2 separate regions of the Homo sapiens genome follow, and region 1 is linked to region 2. The links are contacts of gene promoters, found by promoter capture Hi-C in human tissues and cell types (Jung and others, 2019). All regions are on one chromosome and are shown on one strand. The core of a region is centred on a gene start or on the middle of the fragment in contact, and the rest is flanking DNA. Distances in the headings are between cores, read along the strand shown.

Region 1 (3,319 bases), core at 256-2,755, 140 kb after region 2:
TCAGAGAGAGAAAAAGGGGAAAGCAGAGGTCAGAATGACCCACAAGAGAAACTAAATACTCAAGAAATCAATGATCACCCTAATTGGCTTCCGAGTGTGCTCATTATGGAACCATAGGCTTTAAACTTTTTAAATAAACTTTTCTTTCTACTTCACACACTTCTCCCCACTCATGACAAAAGCAAAGCAAAACAAAAACTTGCATTCTTGCTGTAACTCCCAGCAACACATTATCCTGAATAAATTGTTCCTAGAGGATGAGCAATGTTACAAATATTGGCAGAGCTGACCCGGGCTGGCAAGGACGGGTTTTAGCAGGGCCTGTGAGCAGGAGGGTAGGTGAGTTTCAGCTGACACTACTAGCCTGGTGTCCTGGGCTCCAGCCTGTGTCCCACAGCATGCCATTCCACTAAATTCCTCTTTCTGGCCAGCTCTGCCTAGAGAATCCTCTTCCCACGCATTTCTCCTCACTGAGGTCTCCTCCTAACCTGCTGTTTCTGCTCTGGTGCTCAGCTAGAAACTCTGGCCTTGGAGCCTGCATGAGGGGTAGAGGAGAAAACAGAGAGAACCCCCGGAGGTGCTGACCCATATCTGAAAGCGCTCCTCTCTGCTCCTGATATCCTAAACTCAATGCTAGGGCATCCAGCTAGACAAAAAAGAGGATCAGCTGAAGTCATGTAGGCGAGCATGGTGGCTTCCCAGCCCCACAGTATCAGGGCAAATTCCCAGGGCTCTGCTGTCCCTCTTTGAACCTGACATCCAAGCAAGAGAAATGGGAGCCCGCTTGCCAAGAGCTTTGGGGATTTGGCAACTAAAAAATTTTACACTCTTGGTGTTATATTTTCACACCACCTCACTGAGACCTTCTAGCATCCAGTCTGGAACTGGGTACAGCTCTTAGATAACAGTGGTTGCTCAGAACCAGGAGAGGAGCTGGCTACTCTCCTACCTCTTACCACACCTCCTACCCCAAAAAGATCCATCAAATTATAGTTTTATAGACCCTATGGGATTACAAAAGGGCCACACACTCTTGAAGCCCTACGTATCCAAAGGAAGCCCTTTGCAACCTCACCACACACACACACACACACACACACACACACACACAAAGGAAAGAGAGGAAAATCTAAGAGAAAAAAAAGGACTAAAAACCAAGATTCAGAAATGGGGATGGGGTGGATGAGGAGACAGACTGTGAGTCTGGGTCACAAGATCAAAGCTGAATAAAATCAAGGAAAAGTGGCCAGGTGCAGTAGCTCATGCCTTTAATCCCAGCAGTTTGGGAGGCCAAGGTGGGCAGAGCACGAGGTCAGGAGTTCAAGACCAGCCTGACCAACATGGTGAAACCCCATTTCTACTAAAAATACAAAAACTTAGCCGGGTGTGGTGGTGTGCACCTGTAATCCCAGCTGCTCAGGAGGCTGAGGCAGAATTGCTTGAACCCAGGAGGTGGAGGTTGCAGTGAGCCAAGATCGCACCACTGCACTCCAGCCTGGGCGATAGAGTGAGACTCCATCCCAAAAAAAATCAAGAAAAAGTGAAGGGAAAGGGGAAGGAAAGGAGAAGATGGGGAAAGAGGAAGGAAAGGATGCCCAGATACAGGGAGCTTTAGCGATGTAGTGAACGGACAGAAGATCAGGAACAAGTTGAGTTCATTGTGTGGGGATGGCAGAAAGATGGAGATTGGTGAGCTGAGTGGAGAAGTGCCATAGAGCGGTGTTTTGCCAGAGTGTCTGCGGATTGCTCATACCTGGGAAGGATTCTTTGTATGGTTCCCTTAGGCTGAGGGAGGGTATCAGCTTTACAGACCTTGTGGGATTACAAAAGGGCCACCACACACTCTTCAACCAATATGTGTCTATCTTGCATTCAAGGCTCATTCTTTGTTGAAATTTTGCAGTTGGTCACTAGGCTATTGTTATCTCCATCTCAAAGTACACAGACACACACACACACACACACACACACACCAGCAAAATGCTCTCTAAGAGCAATGCCAACATCAGGGCAGCCCACAGAGGAGTGTTGCTGGATGCTGATGCTTGGCATTCCTGAGCATCCACCCTAGGTCTCCTCAGCCTGAGACTTCATCGCTGGCTTTGGTCCATCAATCTGTTTCTGTCACCAGCAGAAGGGTCAAATGGTTAAATGGACCTCAATATTGATGCAGTGGCTTCTGGCTTTTTCTAGGACAGTTACCTCCTGGAAAACCTGAGATCTTTAAATGTCGTTCTCCCAATAAGGAAACATTCACCTGCTGGTGGAGGCCTGGGACAGATGGAGGACTTCCTACCAATTATTCACTGACTTACCACAGGGAAGGGTAAGAAGTTCCCTTCTCTCCTATGAAACCCCACATGAGTACTCCCATTCTCCAGGCCAAAGAAACACTGGTTCTGAGTGACAGCACATCCCTGAATTTACACCAGTAAGGTTCATACCACCGGGGAAAGGGGAGTCTAAGGTCCATGCCCACATTCTCCTGTTAATGTCTGTTAAGAGCTGTGTCAATATACATAAGGTTACCAGCCATAGCAGTACAATATCAGTGTTACTGGATGCTGATGCTTGGCATTTCTGAGCATCCACCCTAGGTCTCCTCACCCTGAGACTTCATCACTTGCTTGGGTCCCATCAATCTGTTTCTGTCACCAGCAGAAGGGTCAAATGGTTAAATGGACCCAATATTGATGTAATGTTTCAAATCCCCTCTCACAGCTTAGGTTGCAGCCTGAGGCCCCATAGAAGTGTTTCTTAATTGCTAGTTAATCTTAAATGCTCATCTATAATTCTTATGCCATTTGTATTTTTTTTAACTAAACATGTCACTTTTGCAAAATAAGTAGGATCGTGTGAAGTGGTACCATACAATCCTTGACAAATGTGGTATATTAGGTTTTCAAACTTGTTTCATGTTCAAGAAAATAAAGAACCTTGTAGGGAAAAGAAGGTGAGGTTTTTTCCTTAGCACATTGCTCATCCAAGAGCCACCATCTCCTAGAAGACATATTGGGACCTAAGGTTGAAATGAGGGCTAAACCAGATCATCTCTGTGCAAGCATTTTGTTACGCTGACAGTGAGACCCTCCTGAAAATCATGGGAGAGCTGCATTCTTCTTCAGAAAGGAAAATATTTAGTTGCTGGTAGAGACAGCTGGCCCACTTTCCAATGACTGCACTTTGTTGTACACAAAACTGTCATCCCGGCTGAAATCCAAAGGGACATCATGTAAACAGATTTCAGGAACTCAGATGCAACCAGAATTGAACAAGCCTCCACCCCTGTGCAGTGTATCTTGAGCTGAGGTTCCTGAGT
Region 2 (3,344 bases), core at 110-2,609:
GATTCCAGTCCAAAAGGATCACCAAAGCATCATGGGATTTTCAATGGCTTCCTGTGGCTTGGCAAATGCTCACTGCTAACTGTGATTTCCCAGTTATCCAGAGTAGCAGTCAAATCAAAGGGGAAAGCCTCATGTTTCAATAACTTAAAACAAAACAAAAAAAAAAACGGCCAGGCGCAGTGGCTCACGCCTGTAATCCCAGCACTTCAGGAGGCCAAGGTGGGTGGATCATGAGGTCAGGAAATCAAGACCATCCTGGCTAACAGGGTGAAACCTCATCTCTACTAAAAATACAAAAAACTAGCCGGACATGGTGGCACGCGCCTGTAGTCCCACCTACTCGGGAGGCTGAAGCAGGACAATTGCTTGAATCCAGGAGGCAGAGGTTCCAGTGAGCCGAGATGGGGTCACTGCAATCCAGCCTGAGCGACAGAGCGAGACTCTGTCTCAAAAAAACAAACAAAAACAAACAAAAAAAAAAACTCAGTAACCTTGGTTTAAAGTATTTCCTTGGTGGCCCTCTGGGTTGTGTAACAATCGGATGCATTAATTATTATGGCATCAAATGACACCAGCAACATACATAGTCAGAAATAACTATTTGATTCAGGCAGGTGCTATTATTTGTTTCAGCACTGTTAAATGTGGGGTTTTTGTTTTTGCAAGAGAAAAGGCGGTTGTGTGTGGTTTCAAGAAGAAGAAAAGTCAGAACAACATGCAGCCCATTAGAAAAGATAAATTCTTTATTTGTGGAAAACAACAGAAGTGGGGCTATTTAGGCACCGCCAATGTTTATTATATTCATATGGCAGAGAATAAACACAGCACACTAGAAGTTTGCGCTTTGGGTATTAAAAAAAAAAAAAAGCAAAACCTTCTTAGGTCACTGACTATCTTCTTTTGCTCCTTTCTATCTGACTCCTCAGGCAAGGTGCAATTCAAATCCCTGGAGAACCTCTCAAATATAGCTGCTGTTCAATGTTACTCAGAAATAAGGAAAGAAATTTGACACGGAGACACTCCACATCTTGGCTGCCTGGAAAAATATCATCTTTGAGGTCATTCAACTCACTAAGTCATTTTTATTATTGTTTTGTCTGTCTATTTTCTGGTACAGTCTCAATGAAAGATATGTGGCCCTAATCATGCAAAACCGATCTGGGGGGAATCAGTTGTTTCTTCAGGTCTTCGCAGGATTCCAGCTCCCCCAACTACCTCCGTCGCCTTCTAAAACTGGCAGGCTCTGGACGTTTTGCATGCTGAAGAAAATCACTGTTTTGCCTCCAGCAAGGAACATAAATGTTGCAACACTGACTCCTCCTCTCATGAAGAAAGAGTGAACAAGTGCACCGAGTTGAGCTTCTTCTCACAGAGCCACCGGGCTGGGGACCGGGGAGCGGAGGCTGAAATCCCCAGACGCCGGTTTTCTGGGCTGGGCTTTCTGCCTTACTCACTCCTTCTCCCTCTTTCTGGATTTTACCGACCGTTCGCGAAACAGCTTTCCACACAATGGAGCTTCATGTCCTCGTGCAGGAAGTACTCATCGACTGATGTGGCAGACTTTGCTCCCTGGCAAAAGTGAGTACCCATGGCGAGCTGAGGCCGCCTCCGACGGCGCGCGGCAGGGGCTGCGCGGGCGGCCGCTCTCCGGGATGCGGGTTCGAGGCCCGCGTGCTGAAGGGGAGAGCGGGGCCACCGGCGCGGGCTCCTGGAGAGAACGCCAGCCAGGAGCCAGAGTCGGCAGCCGGCGGGGAAGCCCGGGATCCGCCCGCCTCCCGCCCGGATGTCCCTTCTCAGAGGGGCTAAAAAATACTCTTAAGGTGCTTTGCCTCCACCACTGCCCCCAACCCCAGCTTTTACAAACTGCACTCGGCTCGCATTCGCCTTTGTCAAAGGCATCTTCACCTGTATCCTTGAGCATGAGTTTCGGCGTTGATTGTGGGATTCTCAGAATGCAAATTATTTGCGTCAAAATAAAAAGAAAAGAAAAAAAGAGCGGGGAGGGGGAAGGGGCGCAGACAGGTGATGTGATGAAAGCCGGACTCGAGACTCTCCCATCAGCAGCAGCCGCCGCCGCAGCAGCCTCGCGGGCATCCGGCGGGGAAAGTTTAGGGTTAGCAATGCTGACCTGAAAGGTGTTGCTCCTCCCAAAAGTCAGCGGGGGTAGGGGCAGATGAGCAGCCTCCGGGCCAGAAGCCGGAGCTGGACGGAGGCACCTAGGCAGAGGAATTGCAGCCCGGGAGGAAGCTGGAAGGAGAGCCCGCTGGAGAAGGGAGGAGGGAAGGGAAGAGGAGTTGGTTAAAGTCAGGCAAACTCAGGTAACTGGAGGGCCGGCCCGAGTGCTACGGCAGGGGAAGGCAAGGGCTGGAGTTCTGGCTCTTTGAGTAGAAAACTATCCTTTTAGTGACCTCTACCTGTATCCTGGGGAAGCAACCCACACTGCCCTGAAAACAAGCAACGTAGGGGATTCTATGACTGGACTTGAAAATGGTTGCAAAACATTATTATTAGTCTGGAGGGATCACTTTGTCTTCATTTGTCAAGTTGACCGGGCAAGATTTCCCACCTGAAATCGTGCTTCACTTGACCAGGGAAGTGCTGCTAATCCCAATCCTGACCATCAGCTGTGCAAACTTGGGCAAGATACTTACCCTCTCTGGGCTTCGATTTTTTTTCTGCAAAGTTTAGGGAATTAATTAATTATATATATATATTATAGAAATATATATAATATATATATAAATGTTTAATGAGGTGGAAGTGCTGAATAGTGCAAGAGAGGAGCAGATGAAAATATTAATTTCAGTGGTTCTTAAAAATTAGGGGTGATAGGTCCTTTTGAGAATTAGCTGTGAGTCCTCTTCCTGGGGCAAAATGCATATGGCATGTACATAAAATTTTACATGCAATCCCTGAGGGTTTGTGGATACTCCCTGAAAGCCATGCCTGAATCCCAGGTGACAATCCCTTATTCCTCCTCCTGTATCAAGACCACCCAGCCAACTCCTTGCTGCTGGTTGGGCTGACTGTGGGAGTAATCCACAGCCTTCTTGGGGGTCTGGAGTCAGCCACGCTGCTGAAGGAGACAGCTCCCCTGTCATGGGTGAGCTCCCCACATGCTCTCTCCAGAGCTCTACCAGCCTCTGACTCCAGGGGACCCCTCCTCACAACCCTTTTTAATGACTCTCCTAAGGCGACAGTCCTTACCCCTAGAATTTTCAGTCCCACCAACCCTGGAGAGCCATCTAAAGAGGATCGCTGTCTGAATCAGAGTGCTCTTCAGGTCACCTAGCTGGATGGCAGGGAGGCCAAGGCTTTGTTTGGAAATGAAGCAGTCTTTGCTC

What was found. The method cuts DNA at HindIII sites, captures the fragments that hold promoters and counts their contacts. A contact is called where the count stands out against the background at its distance.
Region 1: a fragment that was not itself captured here is called in contact with the fragment with the promoter of PRLR in region 2 in 1 of the 25 tissues and cell types used here (stomach).

What each region holds. Positions count from the first base shown.
Region 1 is chr5:35,085,215-35,088,533 of GRCh38, reverse strand. PRLR (prolactin receptor) reads left to right here. Exons shown (of 10, transcript NM_000949.7): 4 at 2,194-2,326. Among named protein-coding and RNA genes, the nearest start is that of AGXT2, 39 kb to the right of the region's middle. The HindIII fragment of the contact is 6,672 bases long and covers 1-3,319 here.
Region 2 is chr5:35,228,502-35,231,845 of GRCh38, reverse strand. PRLR (prolactin receptor) reads left to right here and starts at 1,359. Exons shown (of 10, transcript NM_000949.7): 1 at 1,359-1,578. The HindIII fragment of the contact is 8,302 bases long and covers 1-3,344 here.